2 separate regions of the Homo sapiens genome follow, and region 2 is linked to region 1. The links are contacts of gene promoters, found by promoter capture Hi-C in blood cells and fetal thymus (Javierre and others, 2016). All regions are on one chromosome and are shown on one strand. Each heading gives the region's core, a stretch centred on a gene start or on the middle of the fragment in contact. The rest is flanking DNA. Distances are from core to core; before and after follow the strand shown.

What was found. The method cuts DNA at HindIII sites, captures the fragments that hold promoters and counts their contacts. A CHiCAGO score of 5 or more calls a contact.
Region 2: the fragment with the promoter of CREBBP here is called in contact with the fragment with the promoter of SEC14L5 in region 1 in 3 of 17 cell types (naive B cells, total CD4 T cells and naive CD8 T cells); the score reaches 8.8 in naive B cells.

The regions. Positions count from the first base shown.
Region 1 is chr16:4,954,040-4,960,806 of GRCh38, reverse strand. SEC14L5 (SEC14 like lipid binding 5) reads right to left here and starts at 2,477. Exons shown (of 16, transcript NM_014692.2): 1 at 2,362-2,477; 2 at 1,421-1,534. The coding sequence starts at 1,483. RefSeq lists an enhancer at 1,950-2,485 and silencers at 2,289-2,584, 2,383-2,592. The HindIII fragment of the contact is 6,723 bases long and covers 1-5,241 here.
Region 2 is chr16:3,877,093-3,883,859 of GRCh38, reverse strand. CREBBP (CREB binding lysine acetyltransferase) reads left to right here and starts at 3,147. Exons shown (of 31, transcript NM_004380.3): 1 at 3,147-4,028. The coding sequence starts at 3,944. RefSeq lists silencers at 2,672-3,221, 3,242-3,291, 3,629-3,938, 3,979-4,028, 4,109-4,158 and an enhancer at 2,892-3,468. The HindIII fragment of the contact is 11,013 bases long and covers 1-5,679 here.

The sequences.
Region 1 (6,767 bases), core at 1,228-3,727:
AGCATTTGATCTGCGTCAGCCCCGTACCAGGAGCTTTATACACATTGACTCATTTAATCCACAGCATGACACCAGGATTTGGAAGCCAGGAGATTCCCATTGGTGATGGGGAGTGGAGGCTCATGGAGGTGAAGTGACTTGCCCCACAGTCACTCAGCTCGTCAATTGGGGAGCTAGAATATGACCCTAAGCCAGTTCCTGCCTCTTTGCTGTCCTAGAACCATCTGCCTGTAACAGCACAAGGTATGTGGATGATTTTGGTGATGCTTTTAAATCCTCTGTGTGACAATAAACATATACGCATGTAGATTCATAGAATAAGACAGGACTGGACACACAGGCACACACAGCCACCAAGAGATATGAAAGTCCCTGGATAGAAGGCTGGGGTTAAGCAGTCAGTGCTGGGGTGGGACAGATGGGGGTGGATGCTAATGTTTCTTACACTTTCAATACATTAATTTACAAGACTTCGGTGTAATAACAGCGACAGCATATTTTGTGAGCTCCTACTGTGTGCCCGGCACACAGCAAGGAGCACCAAGAACTATCTCATTTACTCCTCCCCGCAACCTTGTAGCATTGTCCCCATGTTACTGAGCAGGGAAGTGAAGTGCTCAGAGGCAGAGGGATGCAGCCAAGAAGGAATTCCACATCCACCTATGTCCAGCTTCTGCCCCCAGGGTGAAAAGACCAGTGATCCTGGGGGCCAAGGATCTGGCAGCCAATTCTAGGCCTCCAACTGACTTGCTGCACAACACAGAGTACATCACAAAGCAAACCTACCCACTCATTCTCTCTCTCGTCCCAGTGTCAGCTTCCTTAAAGGGGAGGGAAGGGGGTCTGTGAGCAGAAGGAGGGCTCTGTGGTCAAATGTGAGGTTCTAGAGTCTCCTTTGTGGGGATCTCAGCCCCGACTCCACCTCTGCGTAGATACAGAACTTAGTGTCATCCCTTCACCTGTCAAAGCCTCAGTTTCATGGAGGTTACATGGGAAAATAACAGCTATCGGGAATTGGAAGAAACATCATCTGTTAAGACAGTGCTGTAAACATTCAATAAACAGCTGTTGTCATTATCACCACCATTCCATTTATCACTGTGATATGCCATTATATGAAATGACAGCAGTGGCTTGGCCCCTGATACCTTTGTTTTCTATCAGGAGAGTCTAAAGTAAGGGAGCAGGTCAGCTTCAACAAGGAGAAGGAAGAAAGACTTTGTGTTTTGGTCACTGGGCCGAGGATAGGATGGTTGGACAGAGAGGTCACTGGATAGAAGTTAAACCCACCAGGTCAGCTGAGTAACTCACTAATTCCTTCTGATCTGGGAGTCTAAGGAGCTCCGTCTTCCTACCGCCATAGCTGATCTCAAGCCCCTCCAACTGTCACATGGGGGCCCAAGAATCAGGAGTCACTCACCGCCATGACCAGCTCAAACGGGTACTTGTAGACTCGGACAGGAGACTGGTATCTTTGCACCATGTTCACGCTGGAGCACCAATGGAGGTCACCAGGCAGGGGTGTGCACAGAGCCTGGGGCGAGGAGTGACTGGTGAGGTTGCAGCTCCCACCTCGGGAAGCAGGGACACCACCCACCAAGTGTAAGGGGCAGCCCCTGGCCCCACCCACACAGCTCCCCAGCCTTCAAATTGAGAAGGCTGATATTCCCCCCAAATTACTCCAGGCCAAGCCCCAACAGCTTCCCTGTCATTAGCCATGGCCCCAGACCACGCTCAGCCTTCCAAGAGCAGTCAGCACCCCCAAACTTTCCTCTACCCCCACCCCTTCACACTGAGGGCCCCCAGAAGCCTTACGGCCACCCACACAGACACACACACATTTGCAATTCTTACACTCCCACGGTTCTATTCACGCATGCACCCCGCAGCTTGCCACAGACTTGCTGGCCTACAGCCCACCCCCGAGTCTCCTTGCACCTGCCCTCCCATTTTCCTCCCAGACACCCTGACATACACACACAGCCTTCACCACATTTCACAGGCACTGTCTCTATCACACACATGTACACACGCAGGTTTCCCTCCCACACGGGACTGCTTTTGCACACGCCTCCAACTTTGCACACACACCCTGAAACACGCACCTGCCCAGCTCCACGCACGCAATTCCCCTGGTGTGCACAGACGTGCACACACGCACACACACCCGTGCGCACATGCACACACACGTACACACACGTAGAGGCAATCGCACACGCATGCACACACAGGTCCCCGCAGCTTTGCTCACCCTCGCCCTCGGGAGCCTTTGGGAATGCAGCCTAGGGGAAGTGCCCTGGAAGCCCGCCTGGCTCGGGAGCTGAGCGCTTACCCGCGCCCGCCTGGCCTGGAGCGCAGTACCTGAGGCGGGGCCCGATCGCGGATCTCTAGCCTGGTGTGTCCCGCCTTGAACACCCTGCGGCCAGGACAGCTGTGGAAGGCCGGAGGGGCGGGAGCGAAACCTGCCGGGCCGAGAGAGCTCCAGGACCCGGGACAGCGGAGATCCTGGCCTGGCCCCGCCCCTGACCTGGTCCCGCCCACGTCCCCGGCCATGGCCCCGCCCAGGTTGGCCCTGCCCCCTAACTGGTCCCGCCCCACTCTGGCCCCGCCCCAGGCGAACTCCCCCTGGTTCTAGCCCCGCCCCTTATTTTTAGATGTCGCTTGTTTGACCACGCCCTCAGCCCAGTCCTTTCTCTAGATTGGTCACACCTCAGGAAGTCCCCTCCCCCTTCACTGGCCCCGCCCTCCAAGGCCCTCAGCCTCGGGGAATGGTAGGCCACAGGACGACCCCGCCCTAATCTAGCTCTGCCTCCAAGCAGACCCTGAGTCCGGGCCGACCCGCCCCGGACCCTGCGTCTGGCCGACAGTACTGTTTACATTTGTAGATAAGCAGAATTTACGCTTTTCTTGCTCAGATTAACCTCGCCCTCGTCCCGCTGCACTTGGGTCTGACTGGCTCCTCCACCTGTCCCCGCCCCACGGCCCGCGCATGCACCTTCGCCCACTCTGCACACCTTCACAGAGCGCCTGCTGGGGGTCAGCCCTGTCCAGGCGCTGGAGAGCCGCCGGTGAGCCACACGCACGAATCCCTGCCCTCGTGGAGTTTATACTACGGTGGGGAGACAGACACTCAATAAATAAGGCAAATATATGATGTGTGAGGTAGTGAAAAACTCTAACGAGAGAAAAATAAGCAGGAAAGGGGCTCAAGGAGCCAGCGGAGAGAAAGGACAATTTAAAACAGGTAAGAGGCCGGGCGCCATGTCTCACGCCTGTAATCCAAACACTTTAGGAGGCGGAAGCGGGAGGACCGCTTGAACCCAGGAGTTGGAGACCACCCTGGGTAACATAGCAAGAACCTATCTCTACAAAAAAATTTTTTTTTAGTTTAGGCAGGGCGCGGTGGCTCACGCCTGTAATCCCAGCACACTGAGAGGCCAAGGCAGGCAGATCAGCTGAGGTCAGGAGTTCGAGAACAGCATGGCCAATATGAGGAAACCCCGTCTCTACTAAAATACAAAATTAGCCGGGCATGGTGGCGTATACCTGTAATCTCAGCTACTCGGGAGGCTGAGGCAGGAGAATCGCTTGAATCAAGGAGGCGGAGGTTGCAGTGAGCCGAGACTGCGCCACTGCACTCCAGCCTGGGCAAGAAGAACAAAGCTCCGTCGCAAAAAAAAAAAAAAAAAATTAGCCAGGCGTGTTGGCACGTGCCTGTGGTCCCAGCTACTCAAGAGGCTGAGGCAGGAGGATCCCTTGAGCCCAGAAGTTCAAAGCTGCAGTGAGCTGTTACCTGGCCACTGCACTCCAGCCTGGGCAACAAAGCAAGACTCGGTCTCAAAATAAATAAGTAAATAAATAAATAAAACAGGGAGTAAGGGGGCCTCCCTTGGGAGAGTGACATTTGTCCATCACTCTCATTTTAACTCACACTTAACCCCTTTCAGCCCTCCCAGGACTCCCAGGGGACCAACCTTGCTCCCAGAAGTCCTGCCTTGCCACTCCTCATCTGTTTAGCCTACAAGACCCAAGAAATTGGCTCTGGACAGTGCTGTCATCCATGTATTCACTCATTCAACATTTACTGAGCACCTACTACGTGCCACCGTGGGGTGAATTCACCCCTTCAAGCAGGGGAAGTCAGAGGTGGCCAGGGAGATGGACAACCCCTGATATATTTCAAGTATGTCACTGCACCCTGTGAAAATCACCTCTCTTCCCTTCCTAGCCTGCATCACATTCTAATATTGCATTTATTCGTTTTATATATCTGTGGGTTCCTGGAGGTCTCTCTCAGGAGACTGTGAGCTCCCTGAGGGCAGGGGCAGTGGCTGCCTTATTCAGCTGCCCGCATGTTGGGAAGGATCTTACTGGGGACCTGGCAGGCAGGCAGCAGGTGCCCAGCAGACTCTTGGCTTAGGTAATCAAGGGCGGAAATGGGACACAAAGTTCCCATCCCTGTCGCAAGGTGGCAGCAAATGATAGCCCATGGCTCCTGGAGTAACACAAGGGTGAGTAGGTGGGGGACATGGGATCCAGGGATGACTGTCCTAACCCGGGCTCATCCAGGAAATGCCCAGCTCTGCCCAGGCATCGCCACAGAGCAAAGTGAACGTTAACACCGTTAGCTGCTGTTACCACCACGAAAGGCGTTAAGTCCGCCTCTCCTGCTGCCCAACATTGAGGGAGGACAATGACTGCGTGGGAGACAGAGGTGTGACAGCCCTGCGGGTACAGAGAGCTCAAAGTGGAAACTGGGGCCTGGAGGGGAGTGAGAACCCCACTCCCTCCTCCTCCAGCCCCAGGGAAGGGAATTAATAACGCCACCAACACTCACTCCAGCTTTTTTTGGGTTTTGGGGTTTTTTTTTTACGTGGAGTCTTGCTCTGTTGCCCAGGCTGGAGTGCAGTGGCGCAGTCTCGGCTCACTACAACCTCCGCCTCCCAGGTTCAAGCAATTCTCCTGCCTCAGCCTCCCGAGTAGCTGGGATTACAGGCGCTTGCCACCACACCTGGCTAATTTTTGTATTTTCAGTAGAGACAGGTTTCATCATGTTGGCCAGGCTGGCCTCAAACTCCTGACCTCAGGTGATCCACCCGCCTCAGCCACCCAAAGTGCTGGGATTACAGACATGAGCCACCACACCTGGCCCAGTTGCCTATTATTACTGTTCTACTAATTATTCCTACCACTTGTTGACACTCCATTGGCGCTTACTATACCTAGCACCATTCTAAAGCTTTACAAACACGAATGCATTTAATCCTCAAAGCAACCCCAGAGCAATGAAAATGTCTTGGAATGTGATAGAGGTGGTGGTTGCACAACGTTGCAAATGCACATGCCACTGAATTGGGGCCACAATATTAAAATGATTAATTTTCTGTTACGTGGCTTTCATCTCAATTAAAAGCCCATATACAGTCAAAACTATTTTAATCCTCATCTTACACGTAGGGAAACTAAGGCACAAGGCACAGAGAGACTGAATAACTTGCCCAAGGCCACACAGCTAGTAAGGAACTCATACCCAGGACTCTCGTTCTCCAATGACTTCTTCTCCTAGAGCTGCAGCTGATGCTCCGGGAAGATGTGATTTCCAAGCCCTGAACTGCAAGATCTCCAGGCACCCTGGCTCCAGGACAAGAAGGCGCTGCAAGGATAGGCTGATTCCCCAGGGGTGCTGGGCATGAACTCAGTCCCAGGGCAGGATCTTTAGCCTCTATCTGCTGCTTCCCACCTGCCCTGCAAGAATGACCCAGCCAATGCTGCCTTTTGTGGAGGTGGGTTTTGGGAACCCCAGAAACCACCTCATGTCTCTGAATGTCTTCCCAGCAGATGGGCCACTGCCAGAGAAGATTCAACCATTAGTGATGCATTTGTTTGAGTAAAACTCTGGACCCCATCCAAAGGCAGATGTTCCTGGAAGGCATCCTGCTGGGAATGTCCTGAGTTGAATGGCTCAGTGTGACATTGAGAATGGGGGTTAAGACCCTGGAATACATAATGGGCCCTGGGATGGCTCTGAAGCTGAAGAAGATGCAGTAAGCAGGGTACGGTCCCCAGCTTAATTTTATTGTGGCAAAATGGTCCGAGCACAGTGGCTCATGCCGGTAATCCCAACAGTTTGGGAGGCCGAGGTGGGCGGATCACCTGAGGTCAGGAGTTCGAGACCAGCCTGGACAACATGGCAAAAACCTGTCTCTACTAAAAATGAAAAAATTAGCCAGGCATGGTAGCGCATGCCTGTAATCCCAGCTACTCAGGAGGCTGAGGTAGGAGAATCACTTGAACCTGGGAGGTGGAGGGTGCAGTGAGCTGAGATCACACAACTGCACTCCAGCCTGGGCAACAGAGTGAGACTCCATCTCAAAAAAAAAAAAAAAAAAGAAAAAAATCAGCTGGGCACGATGGCTCATGCCTGTAATCCCAGCACTTTGGGAGACCGAGGTGGGCAGATCACCTGAGGTTGGGAGTTCGAGGCCAGCCTGATCAACATGAACAAACCTCGTCTCTACTAAAAATACAAAATTAGCTGGGTGTGGTGATGCATGCCTGAAATCCCAGCTACTGGGGAGGCTGAGGCAGGAGGATCGCTTGAACCCGGGAGGCAGAGGTTGCGGTGAGTCAAGATCATGCCATTGCACTCCAGCCTGGGCAACAAGAGAGAAACTCCATCTCAAAAAAAAAAAAAGCACATAACACAAAAGTTACCATTTTAACCATTTCTTAGTGTGCTGCATGCCTGTAATCCCAGCTACTCAGGA
Region 2 (6,767 bases), core at 1,898-4,397, 1.1 Mb after region 1:
TGATTGTTTTTTAATGTGGTATCTGAGACTGGAGAGGGTGAGGTTTGTGGAAAGAGCAGGAAGCCTTAGGTGTGCACCGGAGTGAAGCCCCTTCGTGGCTGGGTGGCTTGTCCTCCTTTGTGCCTTATTTCTTCATCTGTGAAATGAGGACAATTTTTCCTTCCAGGATTGTAGGAAGTGCTATCCATGGGAGGCATGGCAGAGCGGCCTGGTATCCCTAAGGCACTCACTTGTTGAAGGTGATCCCCAGCTAAGTGAGTGCAGGCAGGAGCCACGCTTCCCTCCTTGCTATTCCCCCATCAGTGTCTGAGCTCAGGGTTCTTTGAGTCAGACTGAAGGGAGAAGAAATCGAAAGGAAAGAAAAAACAGGTATCAGTGAATACCAGAATTGATCAAAATGATACAGGTGAGAACAATGAGACAGAAAAAGGGACTGCAGAGCCGGTATATTTTGAGGGTGGAACATGGTGAGACAGGAAGACTAGGGTCTTTGGAGAGTGAGGACATGGGTTCCAGGCCCAGACTTGCCATGTCCGGGTTATTTACTTCTGAGTCCTTGCGACTGAGTTCCCTTGCTTTCCTCTGTAAAATGGAAACCTGTCAGGGAATGGCTCAAGCTCCTGTGCCCACTTCTGTGTAAACCACTCACCAATGGACCCCTGGGGGGCTGCATGGTGTCTCCACTGCCCCAAGGCAGGCCCTAAGACCTCTAGGTGGCTGGACACCTTGTCCCGTTTGAAGAGTGGCCTGGAGCCACCTCAGGCTGGGGCCCACCCTTTTCAGTGGCCTGAAGGCCTCTAGGACTCAGAGCACCTGACACAGCTCATCACTCATTCAGTTTTACAAACCTACTTCTTCTTGCAGAGCACTGTTTCTGTGACTAAGACACCATCTTTGCCCCGAAGGAGCTCACAGACCCTTGGTGAGACGGACACCCAGAGCATTCAGATACAGGGTGTGGCCTGCCCTGTGCCACTGATACACTTCTTGCCATTCCTGTGCAAACTGACTTCTTGAATACTTCCATTTATGGCTTCCAGGGTGTGCTATTTTAACTCCTTGAATATATGGGGATCTCTTTATGTTTGGCCAAGGGGATTAGCACAGTCTCAATGCCCTTGGGATTCTCAAGAGCTATTTGATGCATAAGTAAAAACATGAACTAATTCGGGGGCAGTGGAGGCGGGGAAGATGGGGCAGGATGTGTTATGTGTTCTCTCACAGAGCCCAGAAGTGATATGGGAGCCGAGGAGTGGGCTAGGAGGGCTTCCTGGAGTAGGTGACATTTGAACTGGGTTCTGGAGGATGAGTTAGAATTTGCCAGGCATGTCTTCTCAGCACAGGGACCAGCATTTGAAAAAAAAAAAAAAAAAGCCTGAATGATGTGAACTGCCTACTGGCCAAGTGGGTGTAGGATGATGATGGTGAAGTGAGCCATGTAAAGTAGAAGAGACAGATTCAAGAGCGGTATCACGGCCCAAGATTTTGAGCAGTACAGGTAAACAGAGAAAAGCAGAACGATCACTCAATCTTGACACTCAAGGACAGTCACCATATGTACATACACCTATGTTTTTAAGAGAATTCATACGTGTTCTTTTTTAAAGAAAGACTATGTAGTGTTTTCTTTTTCTATGTCTGGGATTTTGTTTTGTTTTGTTTTGTTTTTGAGACGGAGTTTCACTCTTGTCGCCCAGGATGGAGTGCAATGGCGAGATCCCGGCTTACTGGCCTCCCCAGTTCAAGTGATTCTCGCATCTCAGCCTCCCGAGTAGCTGGGATTACAGGCGCACGCCGCCACGCCCAGCTAATGTTTGTATTTTTGGTAGAGATGGGGTTTCACCATGTTGGCCAGGCTGGTCTTGAACTCCTGACCTCAGGTGATCTGCCACCGCGCCTGGCCAGGGAGTTGTTTTAAACAGATTTTCTCCCTCTCTTTTCGGGATGTTAACTCTGGTGCTGCGTGGGGAGCAACGTGGAGAGCAAAGAACACTTAAGTGAGTAGCTGCCACCATAGCCACCGGGACAGTGCGGGAGGAGCAGTCTCCCAGGTAAAGACCGTGGGTAGAGGGGCGCGTGGCGGGTGAGAGGGAGGAGTCCGCGCTGACTCACGGGTTTCTGGCTTAGGAAACAGTGGAGCTGCTGATACCTTTATGAGGAAGCCGGGCAAGTTTGGAGGGGCAGATAACTAACTGGGATGGGAACACCTCGGGTATTCGTAGAAGTGTCCCGCGGGCTGTGGTCTCGCGTGGGGGACTCCCCAGGCCCGCACCCCTGTCTGGGGCACCTGCGAGGCGCCAGGCAAGTTGCCTGGGGCGGGGAGTGCGGCCTGAGCGTCCAGGCTTAAGCCCCGATGCGCGGGCCCTTCTCCGCCCAGGCCGGCCCTCGCCACCCCGCTCTCACAGGTGAGGGTGTCTGCCCTGCCGCCTTGGGATGCGAACAGGCGTGAGGCCCCCTCACTCCCTAGTGTCACGAGGTAGGGCGGGACCCGAATCCCGGCCCTGCCACTTCCTGCCTCGACCACTTTGGAGCAGTTGCTCGCCCCCCGCCTCAGTTTCCCCATCCGCCCACCTCGTCGGCAGGACCCAAGGGCGGTCTGTAACCTGCAGAGGCCATTCCACTTCCCTGGCCGGCGGCGAAGGCTAGTGGCGCGGCCTGGGCTGGGGTCGCCCCGACCGTTCCCGACCGACGCCACCTAGGAGGGTCTGGGGAAGGGGACGCGAGGAGCTGGGAACACGCAGCGCCGCCCCAGCGGGACGGGCGGGCCCGGGCTGGCGTCGAATCCGCGCCCGAGAGCCCAGCCCGCGGCCAGGCCGCCGCTCCCGGAGCCCGCTGGGGCCCGGAGCCCCGGCCCTCTACGCCTGGTCGCCATCAGAACAAAAGCTGTGGCTCAGCCCGGAGCCCAGGCGCCCCGCAGGCCTGGCCCGCGCCGGGCCGCCAGCTTCCCTACGCTTGGCGGCCGCGCCTTCAGCCCTTCGGCCCGAGCACGCTCGGCTCTTTCCGCCACGGCCGGCGCAGGTGGAGGGGGCGGGGCGGGGGCCGTGCGTGGTGACGCCGCGGGGGGGTGACGCACCGGCGTGCCCCGCCCCCACCCCCTCCCCGTTCAGGCTCTGGAAAGAGAAGAAAAAAAACTTTCTTTTTTTTTTAATTGAGGAATCAACAGCCGCCATCTTGTCGCGGACCCGACCGGGGCTTCGAGCGCGATCTACTCGGCCCCGCCGGTCCCGGGCCCCACAACCGCCCGCGCACCCCGCTCCGCCCGGCCGGCCCGCTCCGCCCGGCCCTCGGCGCCCGCCCCGGCGGCCCCGCTCGCCTCTCGGCTCGGCCTCCCGGAGCCCGGCGGCGGCGGCGGCGGCAGCGGCGGCGGCGGCGGCGGAACGGGGGGTGGGGGGGCCGCGGCGGCGGCGGCGACCCCGCTCGGCGCATTGTTTTTCCTCACGGCGGCGGCGGCGGCGGGCCGCGGGCCGGGAGCGGAGCCCGGAGCCCCCTCGTCGTCGGGCCGCGAGCGAATTCATTAAGTGGGGCGCGGGGGGGGAGCGAGGCGGCGGCGGCGGCGGCACCATGTTCTCGGGGACTGCCTGAGCCGCCCGGCCGGGCGCCGTCGCTGCCAGCCGGGCCCGGGGGGGCGGCCGGGCCGCCGGGGCGCCCCCACCGCGGAGTGTCGCGCTCGGGAGGCGGGCAGGGGATGAGGGGGCCGCGGCCGGCGGCGGCGGCGGCGGCCGGGGGCGGGCGGTGAGCGCTGCGGGGCGCTGTTGCTGTGGCTGAGATTTGGCCGCCGCCTCCCCCACCCGGCCTGCGCCCTCCCTCTCCCTCGGCGCCCGCCCGCCCGCTCGCGGCCCGCGCTCGCTCCTCTCCCTCGCAGCCGGCAGGGCCCCCGACCCCCGTCCGGGCCCTCGCCGGCCCGGCCGCCCGTGCCCGGGGCTGTTTTCGCGAGCAGGTGAAAATGGCTGAGAACTTGCTGGACGGACCGCCCAACCCCAAAAGAGCCAAACTCAGCTCGCCCGGTTTCTCGGCGAATGACAGCACAGGTGAGGAGGGGGTCCGGGGCGGCGGGGGCCCGGGGCGCGCTGTCACCCCCACCTGAAAGAGAGCGTCCGGGGGTCGTGGTCGCGGATACCGATCGAGCCGGGAGCTCGGAGCAGGCCCCGCAGCCCGTTCCCCTCGCCCCGCGCGGGAGGGTGGAAGTTCGTCGCAGGACTGTCACTGGGCCCGAGTTGGTCAGCACACGCCCGGTGCACTCGGCCTCCCCGCACCCGATCAGCCCTCCTCGCGGGGACCCTAGTGGCACTCCAGGAGGGAAGAAGTAAAGTGCAGCGTGTGGGTTTGTTTGGTAATGTCCTACGCATCCATCCGCGGCCGTGTCCACACGCGTGGCCGTCCAGAGGAATGACAGCGGAGGGTACCTTTGATGCTTAGAGAAAGCAAGATCGCGGCCAAAGGTAGGGCAGTGTGTTTTCTGGATTGGCGACACATTGACCAGGCTGCATTCAGAGGACACTCACAGCAGCCGCCAGCTTGCGAGTTAGAACCGAAGTTTCTTGGAATGAGTGAGTTCCTTGGAAAGATGCTTAGTGCTTATTTTCAAAACTCCTTGTTTTGTGTGTGTGTGTGTGTGTGTGTGTGTGCGCGCGTGTGTGTTTTTAGTCAACTAGTCATTCCATTTTTCAAAACCCAAACTTCGTTAGCAAGATGTCATGAAAGTTGCTGTGGTGTGTTTCATTTCCATGTATAACTTCAAAAGAAAGTTAAACAGCAGGTTTAAGTTCATTTGGGCTGCAATCTCCATTTGAGTTTGTGTTGCTTTCACAGTGTAGATGTACAAAGAATTAAGGAATGTAGGAATTCCAATTTTTCAAAAAAATGGAGCAGGATACTGAATAAATCATCTTTTTGTTTGTTTCCTTTCATTAAACGGCTTCCCTGGAAACTTTCTTAAGTTATCATAGCTGCTTAAGAGAAGTATTTAGTTTTCTATTAATTCAGTAATTCTGGGTCCCACTGCGCTGGTTCATGGTAACATGAACTAGTTGTATTTCCTCTTTTAGAGCTCTCTCCTTTGCCGCAAAAACTTGTGTGCCGCTGCGAACAATTCCATCTCCAGCGCAGCTTGCATTTCTCCAGTAGTCTTGCAGTGGTAGCATCTGAAAATCAGTTTCTAATGAATGAGTCCAAATTGAATTACATCGCTGCCTTCAGATTTGCACTAGACACAGCTGTTCAACTTGTGGAAATAGTTCTGTGACCGACCACTAGCATATTAAAAAAAACTGCTATTGCTGTTGAAACAAAACCTGAATTTTGTGGCTTAAGTTTGAATACAATTCCTGGAATCAAGTTATGATAAGCGACGTTTAATATTAATGTAGAAGTGAAAAGCGATTTTTAAAGATCAATCATAAGGAGATTCTTATCTAGTTAAAATTTGTTAAACAGTGGGGAGGAGTAAATGATGCTCATGGTATATAAAAATCACTAATGCTTTTCTTTTTAGCTGATAAAAGTTGAGTTTGACGTTAATCTTATAAAATGAACTTATTGAAGTGAGAAATTTGGAAACAGTAGTTTAAATGCCGTTGTACTGCAAAACAGATCTCCGTTGCTTCATTAATCTTGCTGTGTTTGAGTAGTCTTCAGTTCTGTGAGACGTAGGTCATACGTGGCGAGTTCAGCTTTGAAGCTTGTCTTCTGAAACTGGTAACCTGGATGGCTTTGTAGCTTTGCTGTTGTTGAATGAATTTGTTGTAGATTTTGTCTTAAAAAGGGGGACAATTAGTAACACAAGACTTAACAAAAAGGCATGTCCTTATATGTACATCCAGCTGTTTCCAAGATGGAGCCCAAAGGTTAGCTTTTTCCATAGTAGTGTCCATTATTGGATGATCAGATGCTTAATAAGTTGATCAGAAAGGATTTTCCACACTTAACCACCTTTTCCCCCTTCCTTTACAATTTTGATCCTTGTAAGGCACAGGGGCTCTTTCGTGGGACCAAAAGTCAGCTTTAAATGGCTCCGATTTAATCCAAAGTAGAAAGTCAACATCATACTTAAGTTGGGTCATGTGTTACACATTCATCACCATCACACTATTGTGAAAGGGTCTGTTAGTATGGGGGACCAAGGAAGGGCTCATTATCAAGCACATTAAACAAGGGGCTGCTGGGCGCCATGGCTCATGCCTGTAATCCCAGCACTTTGGGAGGCGGAGGCTGGTGGATCAACTTCAGGTCAGGAGTTCAAGACCAGCCTGGCCAACATGGGGAAACCCCATCTGTACTCAAAATACAAAAACATAGCCAGGCATGGTGACATGCACCTGTAATTCCAGCTACTTGAGAGGCTGAGGCATGACAATTGCTTGAACTCGGGAGGCAGAGGTTGCAGTGAGCCAAGATCGCGCCACTGCACTCCAGCCTGGGTAATGGAGTGAGACGCTGTCTCCAAAAGAAACGAGGGACACTTTGTCTGTTGTAACTGCTCCACTAAGAAATTGAGTAATGAGATGGACAGAGATCTTAGGGATGTATTTTAAACAAATAAATGGCTTGAGTTTTTACATTAAATACATTCAAAAACTGAAGGCATTTGGTTAGGTGGGACAGACCTGAGAATAACATTCTTGAGGAACTCAATCTTATTTTAGTGACGGGATGTGTCTCTGAGGCTCCCAGGGGAAAATTGGGCCTAGTGGAGCAGGGTGTGTGCCCGGTGCATGTGATCAAATTTGAGGGAGGGGACCTCTGTCTAGGAGCTGAGGGGTTGAAAGGAG